Linked DNA regions of Homo sapiens: all the other regions are linked to region 3. The links are contacts of gene promoters, found by promoter capture Hi-C in blood cells and fetal thymus (Javierre and others, 2016). All regions are on one chromosome and are shown on one strand. The core of a region is centred on a gene start or on the middle of the fragment in contact, and the rest is flanking DNA. Distances in the headings are between cores, read along the strand shown.

Region 1 (3,788 bases), core at 306-2,805, 330 kb before region 3:
CATATTTAAGAAAGTATTATAAATTTTCAAGCCAGTGCAGTATAATAGTTTCAGATGAAATGAAGGGGTTAAATAACAGATTACCATAACTCCTTAAATAAATAATAGATTACCATAACTCCAAATGGAGAGAAAGTATGGTTTTTTTCTCTCTTACGGAAAGTTCATGGTCTTTATGAAAAATCCAACCAGAAGCCTTTTCACACAGGTGCGACACATGATTGCAGATGGGATGATTCACCTGTGCATCTATGCTGTGTCTGCCATCACCAAGGATGCTGAGGTCACCATAGCATTTGATTATGAGTATAGTAACTGGTAAGACCTCAGAAACCTTTCCTAACAGGAATATCCATGTCTTACATATTAAGCTATTCACTCTATTTAAAGTCTGCTCTTGTTTCTTGCCTTTTCCTTTGTTTACTTAATCTTTTCATGACTAATGAATTTTCTGCCTAGAAATTGTAAAGGAAAAGACAGGCAAGATTTTTTTTAGAGATACGGATACCTTGTATGATACTGCTCACAAATTTCCTGACAGAAGTGTTTTCGCTTATGCCTTTTTAGCAAGAATAGCAAAATGGATATATATGTATGTATGAGACACTCCTGGAAATTACAATAGCATCCTGTTGTTATGCACAGAGTACTTATGTCAGGGACCATATAGAATGAGAATTTAGGCCAGGCGCAGTGGCTCACAGGCCTGTAATCTCAACACTTTGGAAGGCTGAGGCGGGCGGATCACGAGGTCAGGAGATCGAGACCATCCTGGCCAATGATGAAACCCTGTCTCTACTAAAAACACAAAAATTAGCTGGGCGTGGCGGCACACGCCTGTAGTCCCAGCCACTTGAGAGGCTGAGGCAGGAGAATCACTCGAACCTGAGAGGCTGAGGCTGCAGTAAGCCAAGATCACGCCACTGCACTCCAGCCTGGCAACAGAGGGAGACTCTGTCTTAAAAAAAAAGAGAGAGAATTTAATATGTTACCTCTACTTTTAATTTGTCAATTATACCCTTATAAAGCTAGGGGTGAGATTTAAAGATCCACCCTGTCCACAGAAACCATGTTATCTAGCTGTATATGACAGTGCAGAAAACCATAAAGGGCAATTCATAGATGAATATGTGGGATTTTTTAAAGTATATGCTTTTTGTTCTTTGGTCATTTGGGGCAAAATAGAGGTTATGTGGTAAAGTGATGTTTGGCCCAGGTATAAGGAAAAAAGATGTTCTGCTTAATTCATCAAGGAAAATAAAAAAGGTTTTAAGAAGGTTATAAAAGGTTTTAAGAAGTAGGGAATTAGTAGGTAAAAGTGAGGACATGGTAATCGTGGGCACAAGATGAGTATGGCCACATCAGACTTTATCATTGATAAACTGCCTGCTAAATAGCCAATAAACCACTGGGGGGATTGAATTTAGGGAGGGCTTTCTTTTTTTTTTCCCACTGACCATGGAGTAGAATTGGGGTTACACAAAGAAAGACAGAATATTGAAAGTGTTACGTCAGGCGCGGTGACTGACGCCTGTAATCCCAGCACTTTGGGAGGCTAAGGCTGGAGGATCACTTGAGCCCAGGAGTTCAAGACCAGCCTAGACAACATGGCAAAACCCCGTCTCTGCCGAAAATAAAAAAATTAGCTGGGCGTGTAGTCCCAGCTACTCAGGAGGCTGAGGTAGGAGGATCACTTGAGCCCAGGAAACAGAGATTACCGAGAGCTGTGATGCACCACTGCACTCCAGCCTAGATGACAGAGCGAGATTCCGTCTCCAATAAAAAGAAAAACAAAAGTATTTATAGGACTCTCTAATGTCTCTGTTTAACTTATTCAGAGACAATATCAGAGGAAGTTACTGTACTGATATTTTAAGAGGGTGAATGGATAATGTAACTGAATTTCAAGGGTACTGAGACAGGCATTTTGGTTGTTTCTTTGGAGCAGTAATTATAAAGTGGACTGTGCCTGTCACAAGGGAAACCGGAATTGTCCTATACAAAAAAGGAATCCTAATGCTACAGAACTGCCACTCCTACCACCTCCTCCAAGCCTACCCACCATTGGAGCAGAGACTAGACGTAGAAAAGCACGACGGAAAGAGCTAGAGATGGAGCAGCAGAATGAGGCTTCAGAGGAGAATAATGACCAGCAATCACAAGAAGTTCCAGAAAAAGTAACTGTATCCAGTGATCATGAGGTAATCGCCCCTGGTCAAATGATGATGCTATGGCATCAATCCTCCAAAGGAAGAGGAACCCGGGTTGCCGCATGGTTTAAGTAGGGGAGCTATAGTAACACTTAGTGCCCTTTATATCAATGTGGGTTTATTGTGTTCATACATTTCTTTCTGTTTTACAAAGTCAAAAACATCCTTTGCTGGTTTTGCACCAGAGAATAGGGGTTAGTTATCATCTGTGTTTACCATGTGGCCTCACATGAGTTAACAGTTTAAAGCACTAGAGATTGTTATAGAGAGTTTTAAGCTACCAGAATAAAACAGATTGATTTTTTCTCAGAGCTTGAGTACAGCTGAATATTGCCTCTATCTTAAAGGAAGTAGACAATCCAGAAGAAAAACCAGAAGAAGAGAAAGAAGAGGTTATAGATGACCAGGAGAACCTAGCTCATAGCAGGAGGGTGAGTACTGTCTGACATTACTTTGCTCCTTCTCATTCCTGCTACCTCCATCATGTGAACCTCTTCTGTTCTCTTGACTTTGTATCATCTCATTGATTTGACCTGAAGGTTATAATTTGGGCTTTTTCCGTAATAAAGATTTTATTATAATTTTTTTATTTATTTTTCTCTATACACACAGTAGTTTTGTAGTGATTATTATCTAGTGATGGTTTGAAGAGGTTGTTTTTTTTTTTTTTTTTTTTTTTACTAACAATCTGGTTTCCGCTGGGCGCGGTGGCTCACGCCTGTAATCCCAGCACTTTGGGAGGGCGAGGTGGGCGGATCACGAGGTCAGGAGATCGAGACCATCCTCGCTAACACGGTGAAACCTTGTCTCTACTAAAAATACAAAAAATTAGCCGGGCGCGGTGGCGGGTGCCTGTAGTCCCAGCTACTCGGGAGGCTAAGGCAGGAGAATGGCATGAACCTGGGAGGCAGAGCTTGCAGTGAGTGGAGATAGCGCCACTGCACTCCGGCCTGGGCAAAAGAGCGAGACTCCATCTCAAAAAAAAAAAAAAAAAAAAAATCTGGTTTCCGAAAAACTGGCTGGTCAGAATCAAAATGTATTATAGTTGGTTTGCTCTGAATTAGGAATTTTCTAGGTTTTTGTGAGTTCTGAAGTTTTTTTAAACCCTTTTAGTCATATGAACTAAAATTTTCTACTTTTATGCTGAAACCAATCCTGTGTGTTTATGACCCTGATTTGATGACTTTTTTTTTTTTCTTTTTGAGACCGACTCTTGCTCTGTCACCAGGCTGGAGTGCAGTGGCGCAATCTCAACTCACCACAATCTCTGCCTCCCGGGTTCAAGCAATTCCCCTTCCTTAGCCTCCCAAGTAGCTGGCATTACAAGCATGCGCCACCATGCCTGGGTAATTTTTTGTATTTTAGTAGAGACGGAGTTTCACCATGTTGGCCACGACGGTCTCAATCTCCCGACCTCATGATCTTCCCACCTCAGCCTCCCAAAGTACTGGGATTACAGGCGTGAGCCACTGCACCCATCCTGTTTTTCTTTCATATTAAAGTTTCAAAATAACTGACCCTTTTTGAAAAGTTTATGTTTGACCTTGCCTTTATTTACAACTATTCCCCACATTTAAA
Region 2 (3,927 bases), core at 944-3,443, 420 kb after region 3:
TCCTGAAGGAACTGGGCCATAAACAAGCACATAATAAATAAATCTGCATTCTAGGCTTCGCTTTCTTCAGATATAAGACAACTACCTTATACTTGGTAGCAATTATCCCCCAGAGCTGTTACCTGAATTAAATAGGCCACAGATATGGGCAAGAACTTAGGAAAAAAAGCCTGACCTAGAGTTAGAGTGGTCATTATAATAACAGTAGTAGGAGGCCAAGGCGGACGGATCACCTGAGGTCAGGAGTTCGAGACCAGCCTGGCCAATATGGCAAAACCCCGTCTCTACTAAAAATACAAAAATTAGCCGGGCGTGATGGTGTCTGCCTGTAATCCCAGCTACTCGGGAGGGTGAGGTAGGACAATCGCTTGAACCCAGGAGGCAGAAGTTGTAATGAGCAGAGATCGTGCCACTGTACTCCAGCCTGGGCAACAGAGCGAGACTATAGCAAATGATGGTAGCTTAGATCTGCTGGGTGTTAATTTTTTTATCCTCATGGCTGGTCTCGGGTCGGGGGTCCACTTCCACATCTCATTTGTCGGATGAGGAAGCCAAGGCTTAGGAGGATCCCCCTGCTGGTGAGCCTGACTGCAGGACACACTCCAGACTGCGGGAGTTCATTTGCCTTCCGTGGCATCAGTGATTCATGCTCATTAGGAAGAGCACAGGCATTCCGAAAACAAATCAGAGAGAAAAAGAAATCATGCCTGGCAACCAGCTCTGGTGAACCATGACAGGGGCACAGAGAAGCGCTTCTGCCCCTCCCCCATTTCCTCCTTGTATCTGGGACTCAGCCCTCATCACTGTGGGTTCTCAGCCTCAGCAAGGCAGCTTTCACGGATATCCAGATTCCAGGCTGGGTGCAGTGGCTCACACCTGTAATCCCAGAACTTTGGGAGGCCAAGGCAGGTAGATTGCTTGAGCCCAGGAGTTTGAGATCAGCTTGCGCAATATGGCAAAACCCTGTCTCTACCAAAAAAAAACAAAAACAAAAACAAAAACAAAATTAGCCTGGCGTGGTGGCGTGCTCCTGTGGTCTCAGCTACTTGGGAGGCTGAGGTGGGAGGATTGCTTGAACTTGGGAGGTAGAGGCTGCAGTGAGCTATGGTTGCACCAGTGCACTCTAGCCTGGGTCACAGAGCAAGACTCTGCCTCAAAAACAAAAACAAAAAATCCAGACTCTGTCTGAGAACTGCCGTGTCAACCTTCTGGTGCCTGTGGCCACCTAAGCTATAGATTAGCTGTTCCTTCCGTCACCTGCGTCCCCTTCCTATCCCTGGGGGTCCCAGCAGGGAGAACCCTGGGCTGCCCACCTCCAGTGTGTGACTGAGGCTGGCTGCCAATGGCGTGGGCACAGGCCCCCACCTCCCCTGCTGCTGGGCTCCTATGTTACTTTGCTCTCATGGCCACTGTACCTCTCGGGACTGTGCACCAAGTTGCTGCCCACCTAGAATCGGTTTCCATTAGAGTGTTTAAAATGTTAAAAATAGCCTTCCACCCTAAATGCTTCCTTCGGAGGCCCGAGTTGGGAATCAGAGGTTCTTTTCTATCTGCACCTTTCTGGCAGAACTGAAGGAGGGTGGCTGTTTGCACAGTGTTGTGGGCCCCTGCCCTGGGCCAGCCACTTCACATTTGTCATCATGGAGCCCTGGGACGGCCCTGGGAGGTGTGGGGTTATTATTCTGATTCCACAGGAGAGGCGCATGAAGCTCAGAGGGTTAGGAGGTCTGTGCCTGGGCGTGAAGCTGGAATCGCAGAGCTTGGGTCTGGCTCAAGCCAGAGCCGACGCTTCCCCACGCTTACTCTTGTGATCCTAGTTCTACTCTTTGATCACAGTCTGTGTTTTTGGATCTCATGATCCTGCAGAATCAACTTTATGTGTGGAATTCTCTTGAGAATTTAATCCTGGGAGGAAAGAGTGCTGTCTTGGAAGCCTGAGGCTGCCCCTGTCTATCTGTGATAAGAAGTCCGTGAGCAGCTCACTCCTGAGCCTTGGCCTTGGCAGATAGGAAGCTCAGTGCGAGAGTTAAAGCTTGTCACAGCCCTTTCTTGTAGGCATTTGGCCTCCTTTGCCTCATCCTGCCTTTGGTGTTCTATTTTTATTTCACTAGCTCTCTGGTGTGCCAGCCTGAATGAGTGGGCGTTGCGTCTTTCTAGCTAGCAGGGAGCAGGTTTGGAGGGATGAGGACAGAGGCCATTTTCTCCATCTTCATGTTTGGACAGTGGGACAGGCATGCATGGGCCTGCCTGTCCACCCAGCTCAGACCATGCCGGCAGCTCCAGGGTGGAGATGAGGGCGGTTCATGTTTATACGCACCATTTATTGCTTGCATTTTAAAGACATCTAAAAACTCAAAGCTTGAGAAGATGGGGGTTTCACAGGAAACCAGAACTTCTTGTTGGGGCTGACATGGGGCTCTGTTGGCTTACATCCGTGGCTGGTGTGACCTGGTGCCTCTTGTGTGGGAGGGTGGATGTTAGCCCCAAGTGTGCTGACAGGTCTGGTCACAGGTAGCCCTGCCGACACCGCCCCTCCCCATCTGTTCCTCACTCCTGCTCACTTCCAAATGCCCTGTGGTGCCAGGTGGGGCCACCGCATGTCACTGCAGAAGGAACAAGAAAAAGAAAGAGAAAAGCTGGACTCTCTTTAGGATGAAAACATAATGACATTTTTTATCTTCCCCACGGGTGGAGCCCACAGAGGTCGGCCACAAATGGGTTGGTGGCCTTGATGTTCCTGCCAAATGTGTTTTGACAGAGAGGCAAAGATTTGTGCTGAACAAAACATTACCCTGAATAGGACACTGGACTGGGAGCAGTGGCTCAGGCCTGTAATCCCAGCACTTTGGGAGGACAAGGTGGGAGGATCACTGGGGCCTAGGAGTTTGAGCCCAGGCTGGGCAACATAGTGAGATGCTGTCTCTACACAAAATTAAAAATTAGCTGGGCGTGGTGTTGCCTGTAATCCCAGCGGCATGGGAGGCTAAGAGAGGAGGATAGCTTGAGCTCAGGAGTTTGAGGCTGCAGTGAGCTGTGATCACACCACTGCATAGCCTGGGTGACAGAGCAACACCCTGTCTCAAAAAAAAAAAAAAGGAACAGGACACTGAAGTTAAGTAAGGCTGTAAGTATCACCCTCATCCCCGTTTTACTGTGATGAGAACAATGAGGCTCAGCCAGGCAGGCCTCCGACAAGGAGAAGGTGCCTCATTTGCTGGGATCATGGGCGGTTCTGGGTGTAGGTGAGACCTTTAGGGAGCATTTTATACTGTTGCGGGCCTGGCCTCTGCAGGAGGTCACTGTTGGGAAGTGACTTCAGCGAGCCCAGCCGGCCCTGAGCCAGGGGAGCCACTGCTGCCCTTTTGACACAGATGTCACAAGGATGACAAGCCTTTCCAGGAGCATAAGCCCCACTTGAGGCAGTTTGAGGAGGGAGGGTGGAGGGAGAGAGGCAGTCTCTCCCTGCCAGAGAGGGGAGGCTGGGAAAGATGAGGACTGGGAGTGGCGGGGGGTAGCCTTCCAAGGGAGCACAGGCAGAGCTTTCACTTCTGTGCACCCTGGGAGCGACAGCTCTGTTCCAGACCCGTGCTTGAATCAGCACTCACCCCGACATTGTTCATTGTCATTCTGTACAAGGGACTGGTTTTCTGTTGTTGTTGTTTTTTGAGACAGAGTCTTGCTCTATTGCCCAGGCTGGAGTGCAGTGGCACAATCTTAGCACACTGCAGCCTCCGCCTCCCAGGTTCAAGCGATTCTCCTGCTTCAGCCTCCTGAGTAGCTGGGACTACAGGTGTGCACCACCACGCCTGGCTAATTTTTGTATTTTTAGTAGAGACGGGGTTTCGCCATGTTGGCCAGGCTGGTCCAGAACTCCTGACCACAGGTGATCTGCCCTCCTTGGCCTCCCAAAGTGCTGGGATTATAGGT
Region 3 (4,190 bases), core at 438-2,937:
TGGGCTTCCAGCAACATCTCAGCCACATTTTTAAATAGCTCTTTCTGCACTGTTACCACAGCAACAACAGCCACAGCTGGAGCTCCCCAGACCTCTCCCTCCTGACTCCCCATCTGGGTCCCGGGAGCATGAGAAATGGTCCTGCTCACTCTGTCCCTTCCTGGCCCCATCTAACCCTATCCAGCCTGGCCCTTCCTCTGCTGAGGTCTGTCTCATCCAGCAGGAGAGGGTGGGAGTTCTCTCCCATTTATCAGATGAAGAATGGGGAGACTGAGGTTGGAGTTAGGTAGAGGCTGGCTCCAGAGGCCCTAATGACACCTGGCCTGGGGCCCCCAGCTAAGCTTGCTGAGGGCAAAGGCCATCGAATGGCCTTGGCTGGTACTTCCAATATGAAGCCAGAATGGGCCCCATTCAGAGAACACAGCCTCCCAACCCATCCACAGATGAGGCCAAAACAGAGCCCAGCATGCTTTGTGACCTCAGGGAGAGCACTTTCCTTCTCTCTTTTTCTCTAAGGGAGAATGAGGAGAAGGTGCCCTGACTAGGGCCTCTGGTGTGAGATTCCACTCCTGGAACAGGACCTTTTTCCCAGGGGACCCTGCCCACCCATCCAGGGGCAGAATCTTCTAGGAAAGGAGACTCGAGTGTAAGCTCTAGAGGCAGAGTCTGAAACCCACATGGAGGCCTACCAAATACAACCCTCACAGATCCACACACATCCCTGTAGCAGACATGCCACACCAAGCCCCCTCCACAGCCCTGAACTCAAACACCTGCCTCCCAGATCCAGTACGCCTTGTATCCACATCCCGTGACACCTGATCATACATGTACTCCCAGACATCAGCACACATGTCCACACCACACAGTGCCCCAGACAGCCCTGCACCCGAACACCTGCCTGTCCATCCAAACATCCCTCACCCAGCTCCCTCTTACACCCCAAAACACACATCCACCCGCACCCACACAAGATGACACCCAGACACACACACACACACCCTCATATACCAGACGTACCCTACACCCTCCAGCTCCTCTACCCCATCCCCTGGAAGCTCCTGTATTCCAAACCAAACCCCAAGTCCTTACACACCTAACTCCAAACATCCTCAGTACACAATTGTACACCCCCTCCTAACTCTGACTTAAGACCCTGAGAGCCAAATACCAGCACACAAAACACGTGGACACCCCTCTGGAACAAAAAACACACAGATTCCCAGATCCTCCACCCATGTCTGACCCACACGCCTGTCCTAAGACAGTACACTCCGCAAGCCCCCCCACCCCATGGATACCTCCAAATGCCCACGCCCTTCCAGTCAGGCCCAGCTGAAGGCGCTCACACAGGCCCCCTTCTCTATTACCCACTCAGTGTCCCATAGGCCCGCCTGGCACCTGCTGGGCCTGGGACAGAGGTGGAGAAAGGCCCAGCCCTGCCCCTCAGGGTCCAGCCCGCCCGGGAGAGTGCCCAGTGGCCACTCCTTGGGAAAGGATACCCAGAGGCTAGGGGCTCCCACCGCCCCCACGCAGCGCCCAGGGGTGCAGGGATGGGGGGCCCGGCTGTACCTGCGGCTGCCCCGCCGCGGGGCTGGCTGGGAGGCCCGCGGTGGTTGGCGCCGAGCTGTGGCCGCGGTCCTCACCGCTGCGTGCCTGGGCCACCCGCCCGCGCTCTTGCTGGAGCTGGGGCTCGGCTCGGCTCGGCGGCTCTCTCCGCCCGCCTGCGGCTCTGATGTCAGTGGAGGTGGAGCCTGCGGCGGAGGGACCCGGGATTGGGAGGCGAGGCACCGCTCCAAGGCTGGGGAAGGGGCACGGGTGGAGGCCATCTCCCTGCTTCTGGTCAGAGATCTCCTGCTGGACGCTTCCCGCCCTTGGTCTTAAGCGGGGTCCATTTCACAGAGGGGACAACTGAGGCCCGGAGAGATGATTTTCAAATCAGCGGGTGGTCGGAAGCAAAGCAGGATTCGAACCCCGTCTGTCTGAAGCTAGAGGCCGGCCAAACTCACCCTGTGGCCTGGTGGATTTTCTTTCAGACCAGTTCTGCGACCTCCCTTAGGGCTCTGTCTCCCTTCTCCGTGCCCTGAAGGGAAACAGGCCCTGGAACTGCACGGGAGTCTGGTGGGGGATGGGGGAGTGAGGGAGTGGGGAAGGACCGGGCAAGACTAGGCAATGAAGAGAGTGGAGGTGGTCGCAGGGTGTGGGCCCCACTTGACAGGTGGGAAGACTGAGGCCCCGGTTCCTCTGCAAGATGGAGCTGAGGCTTCAGCCCCAGACACTTGCTCCTCAGAGCGGGTGGTGGTGCCTAGAGGTATTGGGGGCAGAGGGAATTGGGGAGGAGGAAGTTAAATCGGGATCCTGAAGGAAACAGGCCAAAAAGGACCGAGGTGTCACGTGACTGGCGGGGCTCCAGAGTTTGATGGCTGGGGTCCAGGTTAGGGGAGAGAGCCTGCAACTAGGACGGCAGGCAAGAGGCCAAAGGTCGGTTTGCTCAAGGCCTTCCTTGGGAAGAAATTTGGTGCCGAGTGGAAAGAGGGGGCGGGGGGAGCAACTCGCAGGAATTGGGGATGGGGCTGAACTGGGGGCAGCCGGAGGAGGCACGTTGCTTGGGACCCCACTCCACCTCCAAGGGCCTCCAAGTGCCACTCCCTACTCCTGAATTCTTGCATGTTCCAGCTGGTGATGGGGAGAGAACAGTGCTTATGCCCAGCTCATTTCCTTTTTCTCTTTCTTTCTTTCTTTTTTCTTTCTTTCTCTTCTTCTTTTTTTCTTTTTCTTTTTTTTTTAAGACAGGGTCTTGCTCTGTCACCCAGGCTGGAGTGCAATGGCATGATCACGGCCCACTGCAGCCTCAAACTCCTGGGCTCAAGTCATCTTCCTACCTCAGCCTCCCATGTAGATGGGACTACAGGTGCGTGCCACCACACCTGGCTTTTTTATTTTTTGTAGAGATGGGGATCTCACTATATTGCCCAGGCTGGTCTCAAACTCCTGGGCTCAAGCAATCCTCCCCAATCAGCTTCCCAAGGTTCTGGAATTACAGGCATGAGCCACTGCACCTGGCCAATTTATTATGCCCATCTTACAGATGAGAGAGGAAGATAGCTGAGGTTCCTGGAAAGGCTTTGGAGTCTAACTGATCCTGGTCATGCTTTACCTCTCCGAACCTCAGTTTCTTACTCGGGAACATGGGAATATTGAAGATTGACTCAGAGTTCTGAGAATTCTATGATATAATGATATGAAGTGCCTAGAACACTATTCAAAACATGAGAGCTAGACTCAGTGTAAACTGAGACTCAGAGAGAGGACTTGATTTGGCCAGGGATGAGGGGTTAAGGGATCCATCTTCCAAATCTCAGTATCTCAGACTCCTTAGTTCATGGAAAAATACATTTCCTGCTCAGGGCTGAGCCCCCACTCTCCCCTATACCCACCAAGCACACCCACTGAGCTAGGGGTTCTTTTACCACAAATTCCTGTTCATCTTGATGACAACACCCCCTGGGTGATAAGATGACCTCTGTCCTTTCGAGGACTTGTACAACTTCTTTTTTTTTTTTTTTTTTTTTTTTTTGAGACAGTCTCCCTCTGTTGCCCAGGCTGGAGTGCAATGGTGCCATCTCGCCTCACTGCAACCTCCGCCTCCTGGGTTCAAGCAATTCTCCTGCCTCAGCCTCCCAAGTATCTGGGACTACAGGCGTGAACCAACACGCCCAACTAATTTTTGTATTTTTAGTAGAGATGGGGGTTTCACCATGTTGGTCAGGCTGGTCTCGAACTCCTGACCTCAGGTGATCCACCTGCCTCAGCCTCCCAAAGTGCTGGAATTACAGGCATGAGCTACCGCGCCCAGCTGACTTGTACAGCTTCTATGGTGTGCTTTACATTTTTCCTGCTTTTGAGCATTTCTGAGAGGCCTCGTGTTTTCTTTTCTTTAACAAACACATTATCTTTACTTTCTTAGTATTTCTATTGAACAAGTGATACATGGTCATTGCAGGAAAATTCCATAATGTATTGAAAACACACACAGACTAACTGATGAGATTCTTTCGCTTCCCAAGTGACAGAATGCCAACCTAAACCAGCTTCATCCAAGAGGAATCTATAGTTCACAATAGCTGGCACAAGATTGCAGGAAAAACACCAGAGATTAGGGGCTTGGAGACTGGAACTGGAGATGTAGT
Region 4 (3,698 bases), core at 93-2,592, 390 kb after region 3:
GTCTTTGACAAATATCACATGCTATCAGAGAAACCAATAAAGATATTTTTGTTAAAAAAAAATATAGCCGGGCGCGGTGGCTCATGCCTGTAATCCCAGCACTTTGGGAGGCCGAGGTGGGTGGATCACCTGAGGTCAGGAGTTTGAGACCAGCCTGACCAACATGGAGAAACCTCGTATCTACTCAAAATACAAAATTAGCTGGGTGTGGTGGCACATGCCTGTAACCCCAGCTACTCAGGAGGCTGAGGCAGGAGAATTGCTTGAACCCAGGAGGCAGGGGTTGCGGTTAGCCAAGATCACACCAGTGCACTCCAGCCTGGGCAACAAGAGCAAAACTCCGTCTCAAAAAGAGAGAAAAAAAAAGAAAAATATATGCAAAGTGCATAGAGAAGCTTTATTATTCTCCTTTCATCAGTCTTCCCTCCTGCTCCAGCTTTTTTTTTTTTTTTTTTTTTTTTTTTGATATGGAGTCTCACTGTGTCCCCCAGTCTGGAGTGCAGTGGTATGATCTTGGCTCAGTGCAGTCTCCACCTCCCGGGTTCAAATGATTCTCCTGCCTCAGCCTCCCAAGTAGCTGGGATTACAGGTGCGTGCCATCACGCCCAGCGAATTTTTTTGTATTTTTAGTAGAAACGGGGTTCCGCCGTGTTGGTTGGGCTGGTCTCGAACTCCTGACCTCAAGTGATCCACCCACCTCGGTCTCCCAAAGTGCTGGGATTGCAGGCATGAGCCACCATGCTTGGCCTCTGCCCCAGCTTTCTGATATGACTGGTTCTCAACTGTGCCAGCACATATTAGAATTATCTGGGAAGCTTTAAAAAACAGTAGTGCCTGAGCCCCACTCCAGAATAATTGAATCTGTCTCCCTGGAGGTAGGGCTAGGCATTTATACTTTTTAAAAGCACCCCAGATGTTTCTACTGTGCAGCCAGGGTTGCAAACCACTGACTATAATTTCAAGGGAATTAAACTTGAACAGCTCAAAATGACGTAAGTGTGTAATTAATTACATTCAGCCTCAATAACTGTTTCTAACTGATCCTGGTGGGTGTTGGTCATGGAAAATAGCCAGAGGAAGAAATTAACTGCAAGATCAGAGGAAATTTCTTGTGGTGAGGCAGTATAACACAGCAGAAAGAGCATTTGCTTTGGGTCAGACTTGAGTTGCATCCTGTTGATGCGGGACAGGCAAGCCCCCAAATTGGGGTTTAGCCTGGGAGGGTTCTTAGCTTCACCCAGAAAGGAATTCCAGGGCCAGCCAGTGGTGTTAAATAGCACCTTTTATTGAAATAGCAGTGTGCAGCCGCAGCAGAGGTACTGCTCCTTGCAGGGTAGGGCTACTCCATAGGCAGTGTGCCCAGAGTAGTGGCTCAGAGGCAGTTCTACAGTCACATTTATACACACTTTTAATTATATGCAAATTAAGGGGCAGTTTATGCAGAACATTCTAGAAAGGGGCGGTGACTTCTTGGAGTCGCCATGGCAATGGTAAACTGACAAGGTACACTGGTGGCAGTGTCTTATGCGAGGTACTTCCCACCACACCTGTTTTAGCTAGTCCTCAATTTGGTCCGATGTCCCAGCCATTCCTTTCGAGTCGAGTGCTGCCCCCTACCTCACTGTCACTTGGCCAACTTGGCCCAGTTACAATTGACTTCAGCCTCAGTTTCTTCATCTGTAAAACAGAAACAATAAACCTTTGCAGGGTTGTATGGATTACAGATAATGTATGCTAAATGCCTGCTAGGTGAGTTGGTAGGTGAAGGGCAACCATTAGTAATAGCAAAGACCTTACTTTGAAGAACTTATTCTAAAGAGTGGTAACTGAGATGTGTCCCTGTGATGACCTGCTCAGGCCCAAAATGACTCAAGCTTCTCTGGAAGACAGAATCCTAGGACACAGATCCCAAGCCCTGAGGCTGGGGTGAGAAGGAATTGCGGGAAGGGCCTGAGGATGCAGCAGAGAGAGCAGTGGGGGCTCCTCTGCCTTCCAGGATTGACCAAGGCTGAATGTGAAACTTCCGTGGTCTTAAAGCCTCACCCCAGGGAAGAGGCCCTGTGGCACTGAGGGAGGAGCTCTACACACACGCTGCTTGCGGAAGAGAAGGAGAAGCAGGTAGGGGACTCTGCAAAAAGAGAAAAGGAGAAAAAGAAGAGGATCTTTATTCTCTTTTACCCCCGTGTGCCTGGGATGGAGATGCTTCTCCACCCAGCCTATGGCAAACAATCATTACAGTTCCCAAGTCCACCTTCAGCCACTGCTGAAAACACAGGACTTCACTTGAAAAGTAGTCTCAGAACACTGAAATATGTCCCACTTTCAACATCAAGGAGGACATAATAGTAATCCTTTACTGGGCTCAGCACTTCACAGTTGATCTTGAGCGTTTTGGAGTCCATTTAGGCTTCATAACAATCCTTCCAAGTGGCTGCAGCAGGAGATCCAGTTTCCAAAAGGGAAAACAGAACTGGCTCAAAGGACTAAGAGCCGGAGAGTGGCTGAACCAGGTCTCCAAACTTGATAGGACTCCAAGGCCAGTGGGTGCCTTTTCAAGACCACTAATGACAGCTACCATTTTTTGGGCACATTCTCTGTGCGAGGAAAGCCCTGTAGTAGGTGTTCTATATAGGCTACATAATTTGATTTATTCCACTCCCCTCACAACTCTAAGCAGTAGGAAGGAGCAGGCCCACTTTACAGATGCTGGAAACAAGGCTTGACGAATGAAATGAGTTGTCCAGAGTCACAAAGCCTGTTGGTGGCAGAACTGCAACTTGGCCCTAGGACTTCTCACTTTGATTTCAGCTTCCTCCTTTTGCAGCGCTACTCCATAGCTGACGGCCACAGCTATACAGTGGTACCTACTCTAGTTACTTATCTGCCCTTCGTGACCTCGCCTAACCTCTTGGAATCTATTTACTTCTGTGTAAAATGGGGATAATAATATCTATAGTATAGGCTTGTAAGAATGACATAAGATCATTTTTGCAAAGTACATTGTAGATACAGATAAATGTATCTGTATCTACAATATACTTTAGCCAGTGGTGATGGAGAGCCTGGGGTCAGAATACTTAGGTTCAAATGATTTTAGCCATATTATTTAACCTCTCTGTGCCTTAGTTTCCTTATTTGTAGAATGGGGCTATAACCATACCTACCTCAGAGGGTCATTGTAAGGAGTAAGTAAAGTAACCCAGGTGAAGGCTACACATAGTAAGTGCTCAATAAATACTAGCTATTTTATATATGTGTGTGTGTATTTTATATATATATATATATATATATATATATATATATATGTATACACACACTATAAATTCTGTTCCTTGTACCCTCTTTGTTTATTTAGAGACAGGGTCTCACTCTCACCCAGGCTGGAGTGCAGTGGTGCAATCTTGGCTCACTGCAATCTCCACCTCCTGGGCTCAAGTGATCCCCCTACCTTAGCCTCCCAAGTACCTGGGACTACAGGCACATGCCACCATGCCTGGCTAATTTTTGTAGAGACAGGGTCTTGCTCTGTTTCCCAGGCTGGTCTCGAATTCCTGGGCTCAAGCGATCTGCCTGCCTCTGCCTCCCAAAGTGCTGGGGTTATAGGTGGGAGCCGCCGCACCCAGCCCCTTATACCCTATTTAATAATCCAGTTTGTCCTGCAGTCCCCTGCACCATACTCTGCTTTTTTCCCAGTAATA
Region 5 (4,041 bases), core at 1,263-3,762, 440 kb after region 3:
GCCTGTAATCCCAGCACTTTGGGAAGCCAAGGTGGGCAGATCACGAGTTCAGGAGATCGAGACCATCCTGGCTAACACAGTGAAACCCCATCTCTACTAAAAATACAAAAAATTAGCTGGGTGTGGTGGCGGGCGCCTGTAGTCCCAGCTACTCGGGAGGCTGAGGCAGGAGAATGGTGTGAACCCGGGAGGCGGAGCTTGCAGTGAGCCGAGATTGTGCCACTGCACTCCAGCCTGGGCAACAGAGGGAGACTCCATCTCAAAAAAAAAAAAGAAAAAAAATCTTTTGTAGAAACGGGATCTTGTCATGTTGCCCAAGCTGATCTCAAACTCCTGGGCTGAAGCAATCCTCCTGCCTCAGCCTCCCAAAGTGCTGGTATTACAGATGTGAAGTATTTAGAACAGTGCCTGGCATGATGTTTGCTAACTCATGTACCTAGATGTTAACTTACTCCAGCCCCGGGCCCTTCTACTGCCCCACCTCTGCATGGGCTGGTTCCACTGCCCCATATCTGCTTGTTGAAAACGTTTCTCCATATTTCAAGCCCAGGTCAGGTGCCACTTCCTCTGTGAACCCTCCTCATCTCCCAGCCTGTTATGGTCTCTCCTGCCTCTGACCTCGCTCTCCCGTGGGATGTATCCTCGGAGGATAGTTACTGCATCCCTGCCCTGGTGGAGGTTTCTGGAAGGCAGGCTTGGTAGCTAGTTCACCTCTGTGTCTTTTTCTGCTCTTTGAGTAGGAGGTGAGATAGTGCAGGGCCTAGAAGTCAAACAGATTTCCGTCTGAATTTCGGCTCTACCATCTACTGGCTGGGTGGTCCTGAGCACTGCGTCTACCTCCGGTGTCTCCGTGTCTCCACTTGCCAACTGGGATGATAAACAGGCCCCAGGTTGTAGGGGAGTCAGAGGCTTATCCTGAGGTGATGCTTGAGGAGTGTGTTGGTTGGCACATGGTGGGTGTCAGGAATTGGCAGCAACAAGTGTTTGGGGAGTGAACAGGAGACTGGCATAGTCTGAGGACTAGACCAGGATCCCTCCTGTCTTCCTCCCCGAGGCTGCATCCTGACCCATAGTCCCTCCTTTCCAGGGTCCTCTCCAGCCAGAGCCCACCAGCCGGCCTTTCTCCAGCCTCCTGAAGAAGATGCCCCTCATTCCTTGAGAAGCGACCTCCCCACTTCGTCTGATTCAAAGGTAAATCCACCCCTCGGCTGCAGCCCCCAAGCCATGTCTCCCAGCGTGTAGTTCCCTCTCAAAAATGCAATTTCTCTACCCCTTGAGACCAGTTTAAGGGTGGAGAGGAGAAAGGAAATTGCCATCAAATTACCCCAAGCTTCTAAGACTGTAAGTAGAGGAGGTCAATAATAGCGGGGAGAGGGAGGGAGGGCACTTCAGTGAATATACTTCTTGTTTTTTAATTTGTTATTATTATTATTTTTGAGACAGAGTCTCGCTCTGCCACCCAGGCTGGAGTGCAGTGGCACGATCTCGGGTCACTGCAACCTCCGCTTCCCGGGTTCAAGTGATTCTCCTGCCTCAGCCTCCCAAGTAGCTGGGATTACAGGTGCATGTCACCATGCTCGGCTAATTTTTTGTATTTTTAGTAGAGACGGGGTCTCACCATGTTGGCCAGCTTGGTCTCGAACTCCTGACGTCAGGTGATCCACCTGCCTCCGCCTCCCAAAGTGCTTGGATTACAGGCATGAGCCACTGCACCCGGCCATTATTTTCTTTTATTATTTTATTTTATTTTCGACCTGTGGTCTCAGCTACTTGGGAGGCTGAGGCGGGAGGATGGCTTCAGCCCAGGAGGCAGAAGTTGCAGTGAGCTGTGATCCTACCACCACATTCCACCCTGGGTGACAGAGTGAGACCCTGTCTCCAAAAATGTATGACCATATTGGTACGAAGATAAATAAAATCCAAGCAGGATTAAAAATGAGGACATTTCTTTGACTCTAAAAGTCCATTTATTTTCTTCTGATTTTAAAATAAATTAAAATGTTCTGATGGCCCCTAAAAGTGTTGTGAGCCTAGACCCTTTGCATCCAGTGCCTGGGGGAGAAGCCAGCTTTGCATGAGTGTGGTTAATGAAGCTCTTCCATGTCCCAGGTGTGGTGTCACATGCCTGTAGTCCTGGCTATTTGGGAGGCTGAGGTGGGAGGATCGCTTGAGCCCAGGAGTTGGAGACCAGCCTAGGCAACACAGGGAGGCCCCATCTCTAAATTAATAAATAGATCAACCTTCCATGAAGGATAAACCCAACACTTTGGGAGGTTGGTATGGGAGGTTCACTTGAGCCCAGTACTTTGAGACCAACCTGGGCAACAGTGTGAGATCCTGTGTCTACAAAAAAGTTTTTTTTGTTTTTGTGTTTTTTTTGAGGAGTCTCGCTCCATTGCCCAGGCTGGAGTGCAGTGGCACGATCTTGGTCACTGTAACCTCTGCCTCCCAGGTTCAAGCTATTCTCCTGCCTCAGCCTCCTGAGTAGCTGGGATTACATGCACATGCCAGCATGTTTGGCTAATTTTTTTTTGTATTTTTAGTGGAGACAGGGTTTCGCCATGTTGGCCAGGCTGGTCTTGAACTCCTGGCCTCATGTGATCCGCCCACCTCAGCATCCCAAAGTGCTGGGATTACAGGCATGAGCCACCGTGCCTGGCCAAAAAGTTTTTTTGAGACAAAGTCTCCCTCTGTTGCCCAGGCTGTCTCGACTCACTGAAACCTCTGGTTCCCCAGTTTAAGCGATTCTCCTGCCTCAGCCTCCTGAGTATCCGGGATTATAGGTGTGTGCCACCACGCCTGGCTAATTTTTGTATTTTTAGTAGAGACACGGTTTCACCATATTGCCCAGGCTGGTCTTGAACTCCTGGCCTCAGAGGATCCGCCTGCCTTGGCCTCCCACATATGGTGAGATTACAAGCAGTGAATCACTGTGCCTGGCCTCGCCAAAAAAAAAAGTTTAAAAAATAAGCCAGGCGTGGTGGCACACACCTGTAGTCCCAGCTACTTGGGGGCGCTGAGATGAAAGGATCCCTTGAGCCTGGGAGGTTGAGGCTGCGGTGAGCTGACATCATGCCATTGCACTCCAGCCTTGGTGTCAAAGTGAGACCCTGTCTCAAAAAGAAATCAAAACTATGTGTGTGGCATGATACCAGTTTTGTTAAATAAATCCTAGTATATCTAATTGGCCGGAAATACACTAACTTTAATAGCAGTTAAATGGATAATGGGGTTATGGATACTAATTTTCAAAAACTGTTAAGAGCATATGTAACTTAAAAAAATTGAAATTTAGGCCGGGCGCGGTGGCTCGTGCCTGTAATCCCAGCACTTTGGGAGGCCAAGTCGGGCGGATCACGAGGTCAGGAGATGGAGACCATCCTGGCTAACACGGTGAGGCCTCATCTCTACTAAAAAAATTACAAAAAATTAGCCGGACAGGGTGGTGGGTGCCTGTAGTCCCAGCTGCTCGGGAGACTGAGGAAGGAGAATGGCGTGAACCTGGGAGGCGGAGCTTGCAGTGAGCCGAGATCACACCACTGCACTCCAGCCTGGGTGACAGTACGAGACTCTGTCTCAAAAAAAAAAAAAAAATTACGTACATGTGTTTTAAAGAGAGAAGTTATTAAAAACGGAAACAGAACTTCTTTTTATAGGCTTATATACACATGCAGTCTCTGGAATTCTGTTTAAAGCAAGCTTGTCTTACTTGCCCATGGTTGTGTGCAGCCCAGGATGGCTTTGAATGTGGCCCAACACAAATTTGTAAAGTTTCTTAAAACATTATGAGTTTTTTTTGCAATTTTTTTTTTAAAGCTCATCAGCTATCATTAGTATTAGTGTATTTTATGTGTGGCCCAAGACAATTCTTCTTCCAGTGTGGTCCAGGGAAGTCAAAAATTGGACACCCCTGGTTTGGTTATATGAACCTGTATCCTACTTCCCAGGAGTCTGGAACCCCAGTATCTATGCTGTGAATTAGACCAAGAGTGCTGAGCTCGGCCACTGACCAGCTGTGGGACCTCACTTCAGCTGTTTTAT
Region 6 (4,199 bases), core at 1,092-3,591, 490 kb after region 3:
TCTATCACCCCTCAACACAGTGTCCATCTCTTGGTGTGAAATGGATACTCTGATAGGACTCAGGGTTTGTTATCTGGGCATTCTGGCCAGTGGGAAGGGGAGAAGAGGAGAGTGCATTCCTTCCCTGTTAAGAGCTTGGCTCAAGAGTTGCACATGTTGTATCTGCTGTTGACAAGAGCGGGGAAACCCGGCTGACACCTGGCTGCAAGGGAGTCTGGAAAATCAGCCTTTATCTAGGCAGACTTGTACCTGGATAACCAGAGAAGAAGGGAAGGATGTCATTGGACGGAAACTAGTGATTTTTAACATAGCTTATAATTGAGGGGAAGCATTCCTCCATCTTTTTCTTTTTTTTTTTTTTTTTGTTGTTGGGACAGAGTCTTGCTCTGTTGCCCAGGCTGGAGTGCGATGGTGCAATCTTGGCTCACTGCAACCTCCACCTCCTGGGTTCAAGCAATTCTCCTGCCTCAGCCTCCTGAGTAGCTGGGATTACAGGTGTGCGCCACCAAACCGGCTAATTTTTGTATTTTTAGTAGATATGGGATTTCTCCATGTTGGCCAGGCTGGTCTCGAACTCCTGACCTCGTGATCCACCTGCCTTGGCCTCCCAAAGTGCCGGGATTACAGGCATGAGCCACTGTGCCAGGCCACATTCCTCCATCTTACTCGTCTCCACCCATCCTTTACTACTGCTCTGCAGGCAGCTTCTCTCATCTTTAGCTCTTTCTTCTAGTACTTACCCCATGTTTCTAAATAATCTTTACTGTTGATCAGTTTTTCAGTTTTAGATGTCTGAGGACTTCTTGCTTGGGCGATGAGAATTTAGTTCTCTATACCTCCTTCAGAAGCACCCACACCCAGGGACACATTAGCTTCCCCTTTCTGCAGCCTCCCTGTGTGGCTTGAATACCTTTTGGGTTAAGTCTGTGTAAGATTTGTTACTGCCATGTTCACAGCTGAGTCGCCTTGTATACTCTGATCACATTTTCTTTCTTGTAAAACTTCATTTTCCTTAAAGTTCATCATTACTTTGTTTTTCCTTTGGTTTTCCTGGTACCTTTCACTAATTAATCCCCAAACTGCGAGAGCTGTAAAATCCTTCTCAATACTGTCAAAATAAGGAATCTGTTTCTTTTTTTTCTCTCTTGGAGGTATACGTCCTCAGCCCTCTGTTGTCCTGCTCTGGTCTGGACTGCCTGCCGTCAGGCCAGCTGGCAGCTGTCTCTCTGGAGCCTCCTTCACATTTCTCCCGGATTGAGTCTTCTGCTACCTATACTCTGTGTCTTCTCATGTTCTTCTTCCTTGGTTTACTCTCACATTTTGGTGGAATACTTTTTCTAGTAGCTTCTTGAGAAAGGGTACATGGAGAAACTTTTTTTGGTAAACATGTGTCTGAGATTGCCTTTATTTTACCTTTAACCTTGATTACAAGCTTGGTTGGTTTTGGAATTCCAGGTTGGAAATTGTTTTGTTTGGGATTTTGAAGGCATTGCTCCTTTTCTTCTGGGCTTTTTTTTTTTTTTTTTTTTTTTTGAGGTGGAGTCTCGTTCTGTCTTGCCCAGGCTGGAGTGCACTGGTGTGATCTTGGCTCACTGCAGCCTCCACTTCCTGGGTTCAAGTGATTCTCCTGTCTCAGCCTCCCGAGTAGCTGGGATTACAGGCACACGCCACCACACCTGGCTAATTTTGTATTTTTGGTAGAGACAGAGTTTCATCATGTTGGCCAGGCTGGTCTCAAACTTCTGACCTGAGGTGATCCACCTGCCTAGGCTTCCCAAAGTACTGAGATTACAGGTGTAAGCCACTTCGCCTGGCCTCTTCTGGTTTTCTTGATGTCTGAAGCTATGCTGGTTCCTGAACCTTGGTATATGATTTTTTATTTTTTATTTTCTTTTGCTTTGAGACAGAGTTTTGCTCTGTCACCCAGGTTGGAGTCCAGTGGCGTGATCTCAGCTCACTGCAATCTTCACCTCCCAGGTTCAAGCGATTCTCCTGCCTCAGCCTTGTGAGTAGCTGGGATTACAGGCATGTGCCACCACACCCGGCTAATTTTTGTATTTTTAGTAGAGATGGGGTTTCACCATTTTGGTGAGGCTGGTGTCGAACTCCTGACCTCATGATCCGCCCGGCTCAGCCTCCCAAAGTGCTGGGATTACAGGTGTGAGCCACCGTGCCCAACCTGTATTTTTTTTTTTTTTCCCTCTGTGGAATCTTGTAGAATATATTTTGATCTCAGGGCTCTGAAATTTCATGGTGGTGGTGTCTACTTTGCTTAGCATGGGACATTCCCTTTCAATCTAGAAACCCTTGTACTTTAGCTGTGGGAAAAGTTCGTGAATTACTGTACTTCGCTGATGTTTTCTTTCCGTATTTTTCTTCTCTCTTTCTCTCTCTAGCTTCTCTACCTTCTTTCTCTTATTTGGATGTTGGATTTTTCAGGACTGGTCCTGTAATTTTATTGCCTTTCTCCCTTGTTTCTAGCCAATTTCTTGCTTTACTTTGTAGGATATTTCCTTTTCTTTATCTTCCAACCCAGCTGTTTATTTAGTTTTACTTTTCTACTGTCATGCTTTTTATTATCCAAGAGCTCTTTTGTTTTTTAATAACATCTCTGTTCTTGTTTCATCTTCTGTTATCTCTTTTAGGGAGTTCATGGTAGTTTTTTGGCTTGGTTTTAGTTTTCTTTAAGTTGCTTCTTTCCGTTTCTTTTGATCTCTTCTGTGTTAGAGGCTGCCTTCACATGTCTGGTAATCTTTGGTTGTCTGTTTATGATCAAGAATGGGAGGATTAAAAAGCTGTTTGGAAGCTCTGAGCGTAAAGACTTTGAGCTTTGCTTTGGGATGATCGGGAGAATATAACCCTCTTCCCCTTGCCATGTCACTGCTTTTAGGAAAGCCTCGAGACTGGTCACCTTGCCCAGAGGAGTGTTTTTCAGCCTGCTTAGGAGGAAAGGTGGCTGGGAGCTGGGTAGCGAAAGGGGCGGCTGCGGGGGCGGCGTCAGCATTCACTTAATCTTTGTCTTTTTGGTGCAGTACCAGTGCCCTCCACTGAGCTGACCAGGCCTTATTCTAGAGATCCTCTTGTTTTACTGTCTTCAAACAACTCACCTTCTCTGAGTATGAGGAGGGAATCTGGGATCTAACTCATTGGAAACCAGATTTCACCCTGTCCTCCTCCTTTTAATGTTCTTCTGTAACTCCAGTTCCTCCAGTTCCCAAGGTGCCCAGTACCGCGAGTGCCTGCTCTGTTCTAAGCTTTCCTGGTGCCTAGCTTAGGTCTCAGCCTTCTCTTGGTCTGCCAGTGAGGTGTTATTTGGCCATCTGCTTTCTAGCCTCCAGTGCGTGATCACTGTAGTCTCTTGTTCTTCCTGTTCTGGTGTTTTTGTTATTGTAGAGGGGTTTTATTTGTTTTTTGTTTGGTTTTTAGATTCTTTAGTTTTAGTGAGGTTTCAGGAAAGAGTAAAATAAGTCGAATTTGTTCAGTACATCCTTAGCCTAGAAAAGTTCTGGGAAAATTTCTTGATTATTTGATTTCTTGTCTGTTTCTTCTTTTTCTGGACCATCTATTTTATGCTTGGTCTTTCGGATGGAAATTCCAATTTTCTTTTCTTCCCAGTGAATCCTTTTTAAAAAATTTTTCTGGATGGTTTCTTCAACTTTATCTTCTTTTTTTTTTTTTGAGATAGAGTCTCACTCTGCCACCCAGGCTGGAGTGCAATGGCTTGGTCTTGGTTCACTGCAACCCCTGCCTCCCAGGTTCAAGCGATTCTCCCGCCTCAGACCCCTGAATTGCTGGGACTATAGGCGCATGCCACCATGCCTGTCTAATTTTTGTATTTTTAGAAGGGACGGGGTTTCATTTTGGCCAGGCTGGTCTCGAACTCCTGACCTCAGGTGATCTATCCGCCTCGGCCTCCCAAAGTGCTGGGATTACAGGCGTGAGCCACCGCGCCTGGCTCAAGTTTATCTTCTAACGTTTATGTTGATTTTTTTTTTTTGGTCTTTTTTTTTTTTTTCCTGTGCGTGGTTTTTTTTTTTTTTTATTGCTGCCAATTTTTTTTTCTTTTTTGTCTTTTTGAGACAGAGTCTCACTCTGTGGCCCAGGCTGAAATACAGTGGTGTGATCTCAGCTCACTGCCACCTCTGCCTCCTGGGTTCAAGCAATTCTCCTGTTTCAGCCTCCTGAGCAGCTGGGATTAC
Region 7 (3,846 bases), core at 409-2,908, 380 kb before region 3:
CAGGTGTGGTGGCGGGCGCCTGTAATCCCAACTACTCAGGAGGCTGAGGCTAGAGAATCACTTGAACCCAGCAGGCGGAGGTTGCGGTGAGTCGAGATCACGCCATTGCACTCCAGCCTGTGCGACAAGAGCGAAACTCTGTCTCAAAAAGATTTTATAAGAAAGCAGAGCTTTTCCTTGAAGCTCTTTTGAAGTGGTAGCTTAATTAGTATTTTGTTGAAAATACTTTAAAGATGCCTAGTGAAAAGCCTACTAAAGTGCTGTGAGATTGGGGTTTAGAACATTTTATTTTCAGGCTTTATGGCCTATTTTCCATTGTGTCAAGTGCAAAACTACCCTGGCCCAAAGGAAGGGCAGAGAACATAATTACATCTTAGGCCACATTTCATTCTTTGCAGCTTTGCTAATCCAGTTGCTCAAGTTCTTTACCTCAACCTGAAGGAATGAAGCATTATTACATTTTGTGAATGGTGTTCAGCCTATAAGACGAAGTCTCACAAGACCTATAGGAAAGTTTACCATCTGCCTTAAATATTAAAATATCCATCTGTTATTCACATTAATACACAGAATGAAAATAGAGGTCTAGGAATTATCAAAGGTACTGCAAAAATACTGTATAGAACTTATTTGTAAATAGCACATACATTGATAGATGGGGTGTGGGACCAACAAACCAAATTAAAAGAAATTGTTTTTCTTTCAGTACACTAAGGTGTGTGTTTTCAAAACCAAACACAAACCTGTCAAGAGTATTTGTTGGCTAGTTTCTTAAAAGGCCAAGAGAAAAAAAATGATATATCTTTGGAAAACTTTTAATTTGGGAGTTATGTGAGTTGTTACTTTCTCCTGGATCACGATTCACATTTAATTGCTTTTCCAGTTGCAACAAGTCCTTCTTGAGAGTTTTGTGGAAAATGGTGCTTCCCTGGAACAAAGAGTAGTTGAGGTTTTTTTGTGGAACTCATCATAGTATTGTTTATTTTGGAGCCTCTGGCTGCAATCAGTATAGATTTTCAGTATCCTATTAGTATTATAATAGTACTCCTCTTAATACTTTCTGATGTCTCCATTGAGAATAAAAGGACACAATACTTTTGAAAGAAGAGTTCACATTAGCAGCACAGCCAGCAATCCTCATCTGGTTTCTCTGATCTCCTACCCCACACTTCATAATGAATGGGAAATAAGATGTTTATGAAGGTTTTATATCCTAGACTGGCCTTTTTACCACTATCAGAATTCACAGCTGCTTTGTTTATGGGCCGAACACAAAACTTTTCACCTGATGGGAGAAACCATTTAAACCTCAAATTAAGCAACCCACAGAACCAGGAAGTTCAAGGACCATGTCTGTTTTCACCACGATGTCTTTCCCCACCCCCCCACCCCCCACTCCACCCCCCACTAAGGGCAGGGTATTGTATCTGCCAGACTGGGTATTTGTTGAACAAGCGAGTATTTTCGCCTATTAGCTTAGTTTTTAAGGAAATCATTTTTTACTTGATTCATCATAGCTTTAATTCTATTACATACTACAATAAAAATTTGACAAGACTGATACAAATATGTAGTGGGCAATAGTTTGCCGTCTTCTTCCCTAGTATGGTGTTTTTCAATCTGGTGACTAGAATAGGCAGTGGGCTATAAGCAGGATTCATAAGGCCTGGAGCTGAGTTATATGTGACACTGCCACCTATTCATTGTGTGACCTTGGTTTTAACCTTCAAAGTGGGTCTCCTGGACTAAAAGAATGTGAAAAGATGGGGAAATAAATCTGTAATCTGAACATGGAATGACTTAGTTACAGACCAGACATATTGTTACTGGGAATGAAAAAGTCAATATATTTGAGGGGAAAAAAATGTAAATAAATATTGAGAAAGATTTTACAAATCTAATTAGGGGAAGATAGTTATCTCCCAATACTAGAGGGTACCAGAGTGCTTTTAAGGGGAACATTTGGTTACCCTTATTTCTTTAAAAAATGGCAGTTTAGGAAATTCTGCCCTAACTGTAGTCCCAATGTCAGATAGGACTCAGGTCTCCACTGCAAGGACCAAAATGTTAAGTTGAAGACTGAAAATGGGAAAATTTGGAAATGTCTTTGGAACCTCAAGTACATAAAAGCCTGTAAGTGCTTCATACTCATTAACAACATAGGCATAGAAAAAAGATATCCTTATTCTCAAGCATAGCCTTTTCTAATAAGTTCATGTTAGATGTCATGAAGTTTAGTGAGGAGTGAAAATCTATGAGGAAAAACATGAACCATTCTACTCTGGCAAAAGTTCAGGACAAACACCATAGGCCTGTATACCAAATTTTAAACCATGTTGAATAATGTGAAAAAAAGCATCACATTGCTTATGAAAGGCTTTCCTGTCGCCCCTTAATACTTCTGTCTCAGGCTAACATGTTTGTTAATGAGTTACAGTGGTGAAGTTAAGGAAATCTGCTTCCTGTCCTAGCATGCCCATTATCCCAGCCATACAGATTTAATACCAGGAGTCACTTTAACTCCATGAAGTCATTCAACAGGTACTTGAGTATTTACTATGTGCGTTTGTGCTAGAGTAGCCATTTCTTAAACTTTGTGGCCTCAGAGAATCCCTTCACATTCTTAAAGATTGAGGGCCCCAAATCACTTTACTAGTATCTTACCATATTAGAAAGTAAAATATTTAAATATTATAGCAACAAATGCATATTTTTAAAAAAATAGGTGCATTGTTTTACATTTTGGCAATTGTTTCCCTAAATGTCTGACTTAAATAGAAGACAACTGAATTGTTTCTTTTGCATTCAATTGGTTACAATGTTACTAGCAGTTTTCTATAATCTCACGTATTAGTCATTAGGAAAATATAGCTTCACTGAGTTATGTCAATCTCCCAAATGTTGGCCCATTTTACTGTATACTACCTAAAATATCATTGGCCGGGCACAGTGGCTTAAACCTGTAATCCTAGCACTTTGGGAGGCCAAGGTGGATCACCTGAGGTCAGGAGTTCAAGACCACCCTGGCCAACATGGTGAAACCCCATCTCTACTAAAAATACAAAAATTAGCCGGGTACAGTGGTACACACCTGTAGTCCCAGTTATGCAGGAGGCTGAGGCAGGAGAATTGCTTGAACCCAGGAGACAGAGGTTGCAGTCAGCCAGATGTCCCAAAAAAAAAAAAAAATTATTTTCAATATCACTATCTCATGAAGTATTGGGAAGCTGTCAAGTTCCTGATATTAGACACAAGTTTTCCCGAAATTCTGATTTTGACTCAACGTTTGGATTTTATCATTGAAAACAATTGCTGTCAGTTGTTAGGCTCCAAGGAAATAGCAGATAATTCAGCTTACATGAGTGCTTTTTCTTGAGACAACCATTTCAAAAAGTTATGTACTGTAGGGTTTAAGATTTAACAAAATGTCACTGCTTTCACAAGGACATTCTTGAGTGAAACTGGTTTTTTTCTTTTGTGGGGGTTCACACCACAAATGCATGGCAGTGAAAAATAACTTAGAGTTTGATGCCACTGCCACAGTTTGTGCCAAGGTGCCTGAAATTTTACTTTTACCTACTGTTGCCTTATCACCACTCTTATGTCAACATATAGTTTAGCATAAACCATGAGATTTTAAAAAGTTATTCTACACTTGCATTATTTCAGGACATGTGTTTGTTGCCAAGCTTTCACGTAAGAGTATCTTTAACTAGTTGGTGCTGATGCCTGGCAAATACAAGCCAAGTAACAAGTCCAGCCATGTTTATGCACGCATCCATTGATAACGTATTAGCACAGTCAGCCCTCCATATCCTCAGGTTCTGCATCTGCAGATTCAACCAA

What was found. The method cuts DNA at HindIII sites, captures the fragments that hold promoters and counts their contacts. A CHiCAGO score of 5 or more calls a contact.
Region 1: a contact is called between a fragment that was not itself captured here and the fragment with the promoter of CAMK1 in region 3, in 1 of 17 cell types (neutrophils). The highest score is 5.2, in neutrophils.
Region 2: a contact is called between a fragment that was not itself captured here and the fragment with the promoter of CAMK1 in region 3, in 3 of 17 cell types (monocytes, erythroblasts and total CD8 T cells). The highest score is 7.0, in monocytes.
Region 4: a contact is called between a fragment that was not itself captured here and the fragment with the promoter of CAMK1 in region 3, in 3 of 17 cell types (monocytes, naive B cells and activated CD4 T cells). The highest score is 7.5, in monocytes.
Region 5: a contact is called between a fragment that was not itself captured here and the fragment with the promoter of CAMK1 in region 3, in 2 of 17 cell types (monocytes and activated CD4 T cells). The highest score is 5.5, in monocytes.
Region 6: a contact is called between a fragment that was not itself captured here and the fragment with the promoter of CAMK1 in region 3, in 6 of 17 cell types (naive CD8 T cells, activated CD4 T cells, erythroblasts and 3 more). The highest score is 8.2, in naive CD8 T cells.
Region 7: a fragment that was not itself captured here is called in contact with the fragment with the promoter of CAMK1 in region 3 in 1 of 17 cell types (neutrophils); the score reaches 6.8 in neutrophils.

The regions. Positions count from the first base shown.
Region 1 is chr3:9,443,100-9,446,887 of GRCh38, forward strand. It overlaps SETD5 (SET domain containing 5), which reads left to right. Exons shown (of 23, transcript NM_001080517.3): 11 at 209-318; 12 at 1,949-2,201; 13 at 2,558-2,641. Among named protein-coding and RNA genes, the nearest start is that of SETD5, 47 kb to the left of the region's middle. The HindIII fragment of the contact is 4,722 bases long and covers 1-3,788 here.
Region 2 is chr3:10,192,468-10,196,394 of GRCh38, forward strand. All of the region lies in intron 2 of IRAK2 (interleukin 1 receptor associated kinase 2), which reads left to right. Among named protein-coding and RNA genes, the nearest start is that of IRAK2, 30 kb to the left of the region's middle. RefSeq lists an enhancer at 1-24. The HindIII fragment of the contact is 326 bases long and covers 2,031-2,356 here.
Region 3 is chr3:9,768,260-9,772,449 of GRCh38, forward strand. It overlaps CAMK1 (calcium/calmodulin dependent protein kinase I), which reads right to left and starts at 1,688. Exons shown (of 12, transcript NM_003656.5): 1 at 1,573-1,688. It also overlaps a transcript of OGG1 not described here. RefSeq lists a silencer at 1,459-1,638. The HindIII fragment of the contact is 10,493 bases long and covers 340-4,190 here.
Region 4 is chr3:10,159,605-10,163,302 of GRCh38, forward strand. No RefSeq gene overlaps it. Among named protein-coding and RNA genes, the nearest start is that of IRAK2, 3.5 kb to the right of the region's middle. The HindIII fragment of the contact is 1,059 bases long and covers 814-1,872 here.
Region 5 is chr3:10,208,502-10,212,542 of GRCh38, forward strand. IRAK2 (interleukin 1 receptor associated kinase 2) reads left to right here. Exons shown (of 13, transcript NM_001570.4): 4 at 1,088-1,191. Among named protein-coding and RNA genes, the nearest start is that of TATDN2, 38 kb to the right of the region's middle. The HindIII fragment of the contact is 2,369 bases long and covers 1,329-3,697 here.
Region 6 is chr3:10,261,019-10,265,217 of GRCh38, forward strand. All of the region lies in intron 3 of TATDN2 (TatD DNase domain containing 2), which reads left to right. Among named protein-coding and RNA genes, the nearest start is that of TATDN2, 15 kb to the left of the region's middle. RefSeq lists a silencer at 2,917-3,106. The HindIII fragment of the contact is 1,822 bases long and covers 1,431-3,252 here.
Region 7 is chr3:9,384,996-9,388,841 of GRCh38, forward strand. It overlaps THUMPD3 (THUMP domain 3 tRNA guanosine methyltransferase), which reads left to right. Exons shown (of 10, transcript NM_001114092.2): 10 at 1-1,796. THUMPD3-AS1 (THUMPD3 antisense RNA 1) reads right to left here. Exons shown (of 4, transcript NR_132781.1): 3 at 3,092-3,132; 4 at 269-928. Among named protein-coding and RNA genes, the nearest start is that of THUMPD3-AS1, 9.7 kb to the right of the region's middle. The HindIII fragment of the contact is 4,058 bases long and covers 1-3,687 here.